Regions from separate parts of the Homo sapiens genome. Here all the other regions are linked to region 1. Evidence: promoter capture Hi-C in 16 types of primary human blood cells and fetal thymus (Javierre and others, 2016). All regions are on one chromosome and are shown on one strand. Each heading gives the region's core, a stretch centred on a gene start or on the middle of the fragment in contact. The rest is flanking DNA. Distances are from core to core; before and after follow the strand shown.

What was found. Contacts are between HindIII fragments. The CHiCAGO score rates a contact against its expected background, and 5 or more counts as called.
Region 2: a fragment that was not itself captured here is called in contact with the fragment with the promoter of EVA1C in region 1 in 1 of 17 cell types (endothelial precursors); the score reaches 7.0 in endothelial precursors.
Region 3: a fragment that was not itself captured here is called in contact with the fragment with the promoter of EVA1C in region 1 in 1 of 17 cell types (megakaryocytes); the score reaches 5.0 in megakaryocytes.
Region 4: a fragment that was not itself captured here is called in contact with the fragment with the promoter of EVA1C in region 1 in 2 of 17 cell types (megakaryocytes and endothelial precursors); the score reaches 9.0 in megakaryocytes.

The regions. Positions count from the first base shown.
Region 1 is chr21:32,410,999-32,414,008 of GRCh38, forward strand. EVA1C (eva-1 homolog C) reads left to right here and starts at 1,708. Exons shown (of 8, transcript NM_058187.5): 1 at 1,708-2,015. The coding sequence starts at 1,856. The HindIII fragment of the contact is 8,620 bases long and covers 1-3,010 here.
Region 2 is chr21:32,496,316-32,499,264 of GRCh38, forward strand. All of the region lies in intron 5 of EVA1C (eva-1 homolog C), which reads left to right. It also overlaps the pseudogene EXOSC3P1. Among named protein-coding and RNA genes, the nearest start is that of EVA1C, 85 kb to the left of the region's middle. RefSeq lists a silencer at 1,567-1,735. The HindIII fragment of the contact is 820 bases long and covers 936-1,755 here.
Region 3 is chr21:32,528,624-32,531,479 of GRCh38, forward strand. No RefSeq gene overlaps it. Among named protein-coding and RNA genes, the nearest start is that of TCP10L, 55 kb to the right of the region's middle. The HindIII fragment of the contact is 443 bases long and covers 1,156-1,598 here.
Region 4 is chr21:32,511,973-32,515,105 of GRCh38, forward strand. EVA1C (eva-1 homolog C) reads left to right here. Exons shown (of 8, transcript NM_058187.5): 8 at 2,842-3,133. Among named protein-coding and RNA genes, the nearest start is that of TCP10L, 72 kb to the right of the region's middle. The HindIII fragment of the contact is 1,686 bases long and covers 972-2,657 here.

The sequences.
Region 1 (3,010 bases), core at 458-2,957:
GTAACAGTGCCCACTTAGACATTTGGAAGCCAGTGCAGACCCACAGGGCAGTGCTGCCCACTCCCAGGACTCGGGAGCATGGCTGCCTCCCTGTGCCAACACTGTCAGTCACTAGCGCAGAACCTGGCACACGTTGGTACCAATTCATATCTAAACTGGATGAATGAACAGACAGAATGGAAAGTACAGGAGGGACCCGAGTTTTGGACAAACATTACTTACCCTGTGGCTCCTAAGTGCTGGGCATCCTTACCCACACTCCCAGCTTCAGTTTCCCTAACCTAGAGAGCGCACACTAATATTTATGTTCAAATGTTATTGGGGAGGTTGAGTTTTTATTTAATATTTGAATGTAGATTTTAAAAATCATTATGCCAGACAGGCTGGGCCTCACTCGATAAACACTGATGTTTAGCATTTAACACACTTTTCCCCAGACTGGAAGAAGAGGCCGAGATCCCAATTCGGTGACCCAGCCCTTGCTGGAGTACTAGGTGGTATCTAATGCCATCCACCCTTCCGGGATCTTTACGGCCCACCTCTGAGTGGGTCCCACGGGGACCCTCAGCCGCATTTTCTTTCTGCAGGCCTCCCTGCACACTCTGGGGCGTTCGCAGCTCTGGAGCCCGCGGGGCAGTGCGTCCGGCCCCGCCCTGGGCCTCATTATCTACGTTTCCGCGTCACGCCCGCCGCGAACTTGGCAGGCCCTCCCGCCGGGTTCGGGAACACTGTGTGCCTAGCGCCCGCCCTCCTCCCTTCCGCCGGCCCCGCGCGATCCATAGGGTTTGGGTCGCTGGGCGCCAGGTACCCGCACCCGGCAAGCAGCCACGGAGCCCCTCGCGCACTTGTCCTCGATACCCTTGAGTTGGGGCTACGCAGGCCACTCCTAGGCCACTGGCTGGGCGTCCGAACGTGGGTCACCCCGCGCACAGTCTAGAGGTTCAGAAAGATGCTGTGGCCCACTTTAAAACAAAGCCCAATTATTAGCGCTCGGCGGCTGTTTGCGCCGGTGCAGTGTCAGATCCCCCAGCGCTGCGGACAACCAGCACCCAAAGGAAGCCGAGCTGGAGCTAAAGATCCCGGCTCCGGAGCCATCTGACCGGTTTTGAGACCTCCAGCTCGTCGCCGTCCTGGCTGCGAGAGCTTGGGCACGGCGCCGGGGCTCAGTCTCCTCTTCTGTGGAATGGCGATAACTGTATGTGCCGGGTGACTGCACGTGGCGCGCGGCGGGTGGCGGGGATGGCAGCGGTGCGATCCCACGCCTCCAGGACCCCACCTTCCTGCGGCCCCCGATCGGCCCCGCCCCGGGGGCGCCCCAGCTGCACGCGCGGCGCTGGCTCCAAAGTGCGTCACGGGCACCGGCCGCGCTCCTTCTGCCGCCAGGGCGAGGCTGGCACCCGGCCAGCGCGGGCAGGGCCACGGGTGCCCGGCTGTTTCCCGGGTGTGGAAGGCGCTCAAGGTGCGCGGCCCGGGGCGCGCTACTGGGGGCGCCCTCCGCGGTGGGCAGCGCGCCAGGGATCGGCCTGGGCAGCCGCGGGGCGCGCGAAGGCTGCGCTTTCCCTACGGCCCCCCTCGCTTCCTCCGGCACGGCGGCAACGGAGATTTCCTCTCGGGGAAACTACGCGGATCCTTTTCGGGGATCCTCGCCCCGCCCCAGTTCTCCGCCCCCTCCCCTTTGCTGGGGCGCCTGGGCTGGCCCGCGCAGGGGAGGAGGCTCTGGCAGCCTGGGCAGGGAGGCGGCGGGGGGCCGCGGAGCCGCTGGCCATCGATTCTCCCCGCCATGTGACGCCGTCCTTAGCCCTGCGACCCCCAGCGCGTCCCGGGCCTGCGCCTCCGCCCCGCCGCGCAGCGCACGATGCTTCTGCCGGGACGCGCACGCCAACCGCCGACGCCCCAGCCCGTGCAGCATCCCGGCCTCCGCCGGCAGGTAGAGCCGCCGGGGCAGCTCCTGCGCCTCTTCTACTGCACTGTCCTGGTCTGCTCCAAAGAGATCTCAGCGCTCACCGACTTCTCTGGTAAGAGCGCCCTCCCTGGCTGTGTGCCCCCGGCACCGCGGAGCGCCCAGGTGAACCCTCGACTGGGGGCAGCCGCACCAGTGGACACGGCGGGGTAGGATTAAAGTTGAGGCGTGCTCACAGACACTTGTCTGGTGTGAGCCCTTGGCATATAGATGGCTGCGAGTGAAGTGGCGACGGGGGACTGCCACTCCCAAGAAGGAAGGGTGTGTAATGTATTCAGAGTTTCTCGCCCTGCTGTTGACCTCGTCAATTTCCTAGCATTAGGGACCTGGTCCTGAGCCACGCTCGTTCTATGGAGGCTCCTTAAACTGAGCCCTGTGCCGCGCCCAGCGCTGTAAAATACACGTGTTGTGGTCGGAGGCGTTGCGCCGCGTTTGTCACCCGCGTAGCCCGTTTGCCCATGTAAGGAGACTAGCCCAGGGGACACTTGACCTCGAGTCCACATTGGCAGGTAGAAAGGGAAGCCCGCGGGGACTGGAGGTCTGGTGGAAAGGCAGTGAGGGATGAGGAGATACTTAGATAAGAGAGAGGAGCCTCTCTGCCAAAGTGTACCAGGGTCCTCCCTCTCCAATTCCAGTTTCCTTCACAGAAAATAATGACTTCCTACTCTCGAATAAACTAGGAGGCTTTTCTTTTTGGGAATCGTGATCCAGGCTCTCGCAGCGGATCTCAGATAGTTCTGAGCTTACAGGTGTGACGCCCCAAAGTGAAAGGGATTTCTAGGTTGACGATAGCCATAGGAGCACATGCTTAAGTTAGCGCTGCAGTTGCTTAAGGTAACACATGTCCTTGCCGCTGAAGCACACCTGGATCTCCCTCTGGCAAGGCTGGAGGCCTTCAGCCTTCCCCAGCCCAGCTTAGGGAGCAGCTCTGAGCCCCATACTCCTCCTTCTCCAGGGATCTTCTGCCAAGTTCAGGCTTTGCACAGTCGGTCCCTATCGGGTCCTCAGTGCAGAGTCTTTTGCAACATAATGGTGGTAAAGGGAGTCCTC
Region 2 (2,949 bases), core at 96-2,595, 85 kb after region 1:
AGCATGTCTCAGTACTTTATTTCTTTTTGTGGCATCATAATATTCCATTGCATCCTTAGAATTTTATATCCTGAACTAAAAATGTTGTTCTCTGCAATATCAATGCTGCAATAGATATGATGAAGTGACTACATAAATGTATTACCAAAATAATGGCACCCACTCTTACATCACAGGAGGGATGGCTTTACCTGCTCTGTCTTTATTCCTGCTGTCATGTCTAAGCAACTCTAAGTAGCATGGGGCCCATTTTGGCTGAGGTTCCCCCAGAGGCCAAAAAGGTCACTTTGAGTACATCCTTGGATAGCTCCTCTGGTAGAATGGAGGACGGTAGACTGGACACGGGTCACACTGAGGTTCCAGTAACTTCAGGCCTCTTCATCAGAGTGTTGAATAAGAAGCAGAACTTTAGCCTCCAAATAAGGTGTAGTTTTGGCCGGGGACCGGGAAAGCTGAGACACTGCTGGGCTGGGGCCGCCATAGCCCTGGGAACGGAGTATATTCTAGTGAAAGGAGACCAGGTGACTGGCATAGTGACAGCTAAATCTGGAGATATATTCAGAGTTGATGTTGGAGGGAGTGAGCCAGTTTCTTTGTCTTACTTGGCATTTGAAGGTGCAACTAAAAGAAACAGACCAAATGTGCAGGTTGGAGATCTCATCTATGGCCAATTTGTGGTTGCTAATAAAGACATGGAACCAGAGATGGTCTGTATTGACAGCTATGGATGAGCCAATGGAAGGAATGTCATTGGACAGGATGGTCTGCTTTTTAAAGTGACTGGGCTTCATTAGAAAGCTGTTAGCTCCAGATCATGAAATCAAACAGGAAGTGGGAAAACTCTATCCACTGAAGATAGTATTTGGAATGAATGGAAGAGTATGGGTTAAGGGAAAAACCGTCCAGCAGACTTTAATTTTGGCAAATGTTTTAGAAGCTTGTGAACACATGACATTAGATCAAAGAAAACAAATCTCCAGATTGGCAGAAAGTTGATATAGGTGGACTTTTTTAATGGGTCCGTTGAGCCAAGAAACCATGGGTTTCCTGGGGAAAACTTTTTTCAGGTGAACTTCTCCCCATTTAGTTATTCAGAAGACAAGGTATGAAGGTACATATTATCTTATTGGAGTCCTAATTAAAATATTTTTATAAGTAAATTACTGATTTTCACCCATGCTCTTGTGGGAGAGAAAATCATTACAGAATCATGATGTATTTTTTTATTCTGTACAATAACATTTACTAAAACATTTTTTTTAAAGGTGCAGTTTCTAGTGTGCTTTCAAGGATGAGGCAAGAACAGTTCCTACAGCTGAGGCTCTTCTTAGCTAATTGTATTAGTCCATTTTCACACTGCTGATAAAGACATACCCGAGACTAGGCAATTTACAAAAAAGGGGGTTTAATTGGACTTACAGTTCCACATGGCTAGGAGGTCTCACAGTCATGGCGGAAGGCAAGGAGGAACAAGTCCCATCTTATGCGGATGGCGGCAGGCAAAAAGAGAGTTGTGCAGAGAAATTCTCATTTTTTAAACCATCAGATCTCGTGAGTCCCTTTCACTATCAAGACAACAGCCCGGGAAAGACCCGCCCCTAAGATTCAATCATCTCCCACAGGGTCCTCCCACCAGGTCCCTCCCACAACACGTGGGAATTATGAGATTTGGGTGGGGACACAGAGCCAAACCACATCACTAATGCTGAGATGAAGGTGAGCTTTCAGGGCCTGGGGGTCACATGTCCCAGTTCAAGCTTTTCTTCCTTCTGTCACTCATTCAGCACATTGCTCTTTGTGTCAGGAGCTGTGCTGGGTGCCAGGGATTTTGTAATAAACAAAGAGACACGGCCAGGTGCGGTGGCTCACGCCTGTAATCCCAGCACTTTGGGAGGCCGAGGCGGGCGCATCATCTGAGGTCAAGAGTTCGAGACCAGCCTGGAAAACATGGTGAAACCCCATCTCTACTAAAAATACAAAATTATCTGGGCATGATGGCGCATGCCTGTAATCCCAGCTACTTGGGAGGCTGTGACAAGGAGAATCACTTGAACCTGGGAGGCGGAGTTGGCAGTGAGCTGAGATCTCGTCACTGCTTGGGTGACAAGGGTGAAACTCTGTCTCAAAAAAAAAAAAAAAAAAGAGACATGGTCCTGTTTTCATGGGGTGAGCAGTTGAGGGAGAAAGGCAAGCATTAACCAAATAGCCAGACACATCATCATGACCTGTTGTGACAAATGCTATTTTAGAAAAGGGCAGAAGACTGTAACAGTGGAGGGGGCCTAATTTAGCTTGGGGGTGGTGGTTTAATTCTTCCAAAGAGAACCATACTGTAGGGTGAACACTAGGGTATGCACACTAGCTGCACACTAGCTGCACACTAGGGGCCGAGACGCTGAGGTTGCTGAGTGGGAGAGGAAAGGTGTTGATGAGGAGGAAGATGGCCCTGGTTTAAACTGCTGAGAACAGGGTCCTGCACACAGTAGGAGCTCCATGAAGAGTGGTCCCTAGTGTTTTCACCAACATATCTGAAGTGGAGCAGGACGGTGATCAATCACACCCCAGTCCCCGACCTCATTCGGAACTAGTTTGAATCAAGGAGATGCAAAAATCTGACAAGTGTGTTGACAACGGTGATTTTAAAGGTCCTAAAAGATTCTCCAGATATCAGAGCCATTTTCACATAGTAGAAGGGCACATTCCCTGCAGTGGCCTGTGTCATACACAGCCAATTTAACCTTTTCACTGCCTGGTTATTCTGCAAAGTGCATCCTAGAATGCCCTTCCCCTCTGAGCTCCTCTACAAAATTCTGATTCTTTCTCAAACTGTAAAGCCTCTGGCATTTGCCAAGAGCCAAGGCCCTCCTGAAGCCATAGTTTGAGAACAAGCCAAGAGGCAGACATGAGAAAGAAGTACCACTCCTGGCAGGGAGAGCTGACACTTCCTAG
Region 3 (2,856 bases), core at 127-2,626, 120 kb after region 1:
AGAGGTTGCAGTGAGCTGAAATTGCACCACTGTACTCCAGCCTGGGTGACACAGCAAGACCCTGTCAAAAAAAAAAGAAAAAAAGTGGGAGCTAAGCTCTGAGGATGCATAAGCATGGGTGATATAATGGACTTTGGGGACTTGCGGGGAAAGGCTGGGAGGCGGGTAAGGGATAAAAGGCTACATATTGAGTAGAGTGTACACTGCTTGGGTGACAGGTTCACTAAAATCTCAGAAATCAACACTGAAGAACTTATCCTTGTAACAAAAAACCACCTGTACCCCAAAAACTGTTGAAATAAAAAAAGAAGAAAGAGAAAAACAAATAAATAAAAGCTGAACCCAGGAGGCGGAGGTTGCAGTGAGCCGAGACTGCACCACTGCACTCCAGCCTAGGTGACGGAGACTCTGTCTCAAAAAAAAAAAACTTAAAAAATTTAAAAAAGAAAATGATGCAGGCACTGCAAATAGAACATACTTGGGTGCATGTCGGGGAAAGCGGAGGGGGAGACACCAGGGTCCATGACCCCATGGCATGAGGACATGATTGTGGAGCCGCTCTCTTGCTGTCCACAAAGTCACTGTAAAAGCAAAGTGCCAAACATTTTCAGTGAGGGCCTTTTTGCTCATTGGTCATGACTGGTGTCAGGCAACCCTTGGAAATTTCCTCACGACCTTAGAGGGACAGCATCACCTGCAGTTTCTATGGCAGAGATTCCATAGTAGGTTGAACACTGCTCCCCCAAATACACGTCTTCCTGGAACCTCAGAATGTGACCTTATTTGGAGACAGGGTCTTCACAGTTATAATTAGTTAAGATGAGGTGGCACTGATGGGCTCTAACTCCAATGACTGGCGGCTTTCTAAGAAGGGGGAAGACAGACAGACACACAGAGAAGAATGCCACGTGACTAGAGAGGCAGAGACTGGAGTGACGCAGCCACAAACCAAAAGTGCAAAGGATTGCCAGGGGCCACCAGGTGCCGGAAGAGGCAAGGCAGGACCCCCTTCTTGGTCTTCAGAGGGAGCACAGCCCTGCCAACACCTTTATTTGAGACCCCTGGCCCCCAGAACTGGGAGAGAATAAATTTCTGTTGTTTTAAGCCACACCATTTGTGGTCATTAGTTATGGCAGCCACAGAAACTAGCACAGAAGCTTCCAGAGCTGCTCCCAAGAGTGGAAGTGGCACAAGGCGAGGCATGGACTAGTCACAGATCCCCAGCCAGAAGCAGGGGACACATTCACACTGGGATGACTCAAGGAACTGTATGTACAAAGCACGAGCTGAGCCCTGCTCTGTGCCAGACACCATGCTGGGTGGAGGCCAGGAGTTGCTGGAAAAGCTGTAACAACCAGCAACCCCAGGTGTGGGCAGAGAAGTGCTGATTTGTAGCATCTGCCAATTTCTGTGGTGTAAATACTCCCTCCTTGGCCAACGCGAGTGTAACACAACGTCCTTCATATAGTGTTTCTACCCTACAGGTACAATCAATGTCAATGACCTCAAGACAATAGTAAAATAAGGTGAAATAATTAGGAAATGTTGAGTTTTGAGAATTGACAGCCTTTGTGCCTAATATAATCTATTTAATTGTAAGCTTCTGTAATTTAGTATTTCATGGTGACTGTGTTTAACAACCAATTTGCAAAAATTCCTGAATGTTTAACCATCAGCTGCCATGAGCCAGAGCTGGCTACAAGAAGTAGAGCAGTAAAGATGGCAGACGGCTAACATAACCTCAACTAGGTGGGGCCTGGAATGCAGCAATCTGGCTCCAATAGGATGCTTTTGGGTAGATGTGCCTGGAGCACCTCCACCTCTGAGGCCCGCAAAGCTGCCCCAGAGGAAGGGTGGCCTGCAGAGCAGCCTCTGCATCAGCTCTCAGCTGGTCCAGGGCACAGCATCAGTTGAAGAACACTGACTATGCCCAGTCACATCAGCTTCCAACTGTGAGCTCTCAGGAGACCTGTTGATGCAGAGATTCCTGGAGGTGGTACCAAAAAAGCCAGGAGCAGGTGGGCACTGGTGCACATACAATACACATATAGACACACACACACCATGCACAGAACATACAGACACATGCATGCACAGAACATGTAGATAGGTACACACACATGCACAGAGCACGCAGACACACACACATGCACAGAACATGCAGATACACACACATGCACAAACACACTCCTGTTACGGTTTGGCTGTGTCCCCACCCAAATCTCATCTTGAATTCCCATGTGATGGGGGAGGGACCCGGTGGGAGGCAATTAAATCATGGGGGCTGGTCTTTCCTGTGCTGTTCTCGTGATAGTGAATAAGTCTCATGAGATCTGATCACTTTTTAAGGGGAAGTTTCTCGGCACAAGCTCTCTCTTTGCCTGCCGCCATCCATGTAAGATGTGACTTGCTCCTCCTTGCCTCCCGCCATGATTGTGAGGCCTCCCCAGCCATGTGGAACTGTAAGTCTAATAAACTTCTTTCTTTTGTAAATTGCCCAGTCTTGGCTATGTCTTTATCAGCAGTGTGAAAACGGACTAATACAACTCCTTTTTGCATTTTTGCCACAACAGTTTCCTTCAGTACAACAGCTACTTTTTAAGGAGTGCTTTCTGTCAGGGACCAGGCCAGGCACTAGGAATATTCACATGAAGAAGGCAAAGCCCAGGACCTTCCATCAGTTGGTGAGGCCTGTGATTGGCCACAGCTGCCTGCGTCTCATTCTGCCGCTGATCTAAGGAAGCCCTTCATTGCCACATATCTCAGCCTTAATCTCCATTGTCAGCTCTCTCCATCCTGAAGGTGAGAGGTGGTTGCTAGTTACTTTAGAGCTAGGATGGGAAACAGGGTTTGATT
Region 4 (3,133 bases), core at 565-3,064, 100 kb after region 1:
TATTTTACAGCGATATGATATTAAATTAAAAAAAAACACCAAGTCTCCAACACTACCTATAATATTATACCCTTTAAATAAAATTTTAGGAATACATAGAGACGGAAAATAAAACTATATAAAAAAGGAAACAGGGGAGTAAGGAGCTTGGAATTCAGGTGGTAGTCACCTTGAGGGGGAGGCAAGGGGATGGGGAAGCACAGGTTAGACACAGGTGTGGTCAAGGCCTCGCTCCTATACGGGTGTGCATTCATAGCACTGGTGCTAATTACAGTATTAAAAAGTAATTCGTTAGACATAAAGTAGGGCTATGTATTGACCAATGAAGAGAATGTCTCATGTCCTAAGGATTATGGGTAATTTAATTCAGTCCACCAGGAATCCTCAAAATATGAAAAAAGAGGTACAGTAGCAAGTCCATAGTTACCGGCTGTGGCACCCTACTCCCTTCTTGGAACCTGAAACGTCCCCATTCGACTTCCTTCACTTATAGCTCAAGTCGCTGCTGGAATTGACTGCTGGAATTGATTGCTCTGCTGTGACCCTACTCTGTCTGCCCTGGGTACCCGGCCCCTCCCACGACACCACCACTGGGAGAGGAGGGGAGGGGGCCACGGATGACCATTGTACCTCAGAGGCTTGAGCTGGATGGAATTGTTTCTGTCCAGATCTGTCCCTGGCCTGACCATGGGTGGCTGGAAAAGACTATAAATGGATGGGATTCAGCTTCCTCACACTCAGCACTCCTTGAGGTCGGCAGCATCACTGGCAGTGGGGCTCAAAGTTTATATTTTCCAAGACAGAGAAGTTGAGTTGTGGCCCACCTTGAAAGCCCTAACAGCATCACAGAAGGAGAGGGTTTGGAGAGGACAGTGGCTCAAAGATTTCGGGGGAGAGGAGGGCTGCAGGATGGGGAGGAAAGGAGGGAAATTCAAAGGGGAGGAAGATGAAAGTGAAGTCGGGAGAGATGAAGCTTTGATCTGCATATTACTTACAGTATACAGGCTTCCATCTGTATAATACTTACAATAATATAGTAAGTATTATAATACTTACAATAATATAATAAGCATTATAATACTTACAATAATATAGTTGTTATTATTGTAATATAGTTGTTACTATATTATTGTAAGTATTATAATACTTACAATGATATAATATCATTATAGTAGTATTATAATACTTACTATATTATTTTATTTTATTTATTTATTTTTTTGAGATGGAGTCTCACTCTATTGCCCAGGCTGGAGTGCAGTGGCGTGATCTCGGCTCACTGCAAGCTCCACCTCTCGGGTTCACGCCATCCTCCTGCCTCAGCCTCCTGAGTAGCTGCGACTACAGGCGCCCGCCACCACACCCGGCTAGTTTTTTTTTTGTACTTTTGGTACAGACGGGGTTTCACCATGTTAGCCAGGATGGTCTCGATCTCCTGACCTCGTTATCTCCTGCCTCGGCCTCCCAAAGTGCTGGGATTACAGGCGTGAGCCACCGTGCCCGGCCAATACTTATTATATTATTAATATTTATAAATAATATACATATTTATATTATTTATTTTAATATTTTTCTTTTCTTTTTTTTTTTTTTTTTTTGAGGCAGGGTCTCACACTATTACCTAGGTTGGAGTATGGTGATATGATCTTGACCTCCCAGGCTCAAGTGATCCTCCCACCTCAGCTTCCCTAGTAGCTAGGACTACAAGCACGCACCACCATGCCCAGATATATTTTGGTATTTTTTTAAATAGACATGGGGTTTCACCATGTTGCCCAAGCTGGTCTTGAACCCCTGAACTCAAGCAATCCACCCACCTTGGCCTCCCGAAGTGTTGGGATTACCAGCGTGAGCCACGACACCCAGCATATTTTTGTATTTTATATTACAGTTGGCCTTCTGTATCCATGGATTCCTCATCTATGGGTTCAACCAACCTCAGACTGAAAATATCTTTTTAAAATGGATAGTTGCATCTTTACCAAACATGTACAGACATTTTTTCTCCTGTCATTATTCCCAAAACAATACATGGTAACAACTACTTACCTAGCATTTCCATTGCATTAGCTATTACAAGTAATCTAGAAGTGATTTAAAGAATAGGGGAGAATGTGCTTAGGTTTTATGCAAATTCTGTGCCATTTCATATAAGTGACTCAAGCGTCCGTGAATTTTGGTAGCCTGGGAGTGTGGGGGAGGGGTCCTGGAACCAGTCCCCCACGGGTACCAAGGGATGACTGTATATTTATATTTACTTTTTAATCTGAAAAAGGACAGAATTAAGTTTTGCTAACATCTATTATATTATTACTTAGGTTCACATATATACTTCGTACATAAGTTAATTCTTCATGAGCTACTTCTACTACTAATAATAGCAGCACTTTATTGAGCATTTACTATGTGTCAGGGAATATTCTAAGAGCTTTATAGGAATTAACTCATTTCACTGTAATGACTCTGTGATAGAAGATACTATATGCCCCATTTTACAGATGAGGAAACTAAGGCACAGAAAGGTTATGAAACTTGCCCAAAGTCACACAGCTACTGAGTGGCAGACCTGAGTTTGAACTCAGAGGAGTCTGGCTCCTGAGCCCCTCTGCTGTGTGTTTTTCTCCTACACATACATATATTGACTCCGTAGGCGCAAAAGCTTTTTTGAAAAAAAATGTCAGTGGGGATATATGATTATTTTGGTGTAGACAGTCTCAAAGATGCTGGACTGGCATTCTTCATTAGCCCCCTGCTTGGGCAGACATCTGTTTCTGTGGGACTTGGCACTGGTGGAGTCTGCCAGCTCCTCCCAGCTCCTGACATGTTCTCTTCCTCCTGCAGCCCACCCGGAGAGAGCTGCCCTGCTGTTCGTGTCCAGTGTCTGCATCGGCCTGGCCCTCACACTGTGCGCCCTGGTCATCAGAGAGTCCTGTGCCAAGGACTTCCGCGACTTGCAGCTGGGGAGGGAGCAGCTGGTGCCAGGAAGTGACAAGGTCGAGGAGGACAGCGAGGATGAAGAAGAGGAGGAGGACCCCTCTGAGTCTGATTTCCCAGGGGAACTGTCGGGGTTCTGTAGGACTTCATATCCTATATACAGTTCCATAGAAGCTGCAGAGCTCGCAGAAAGGATTGA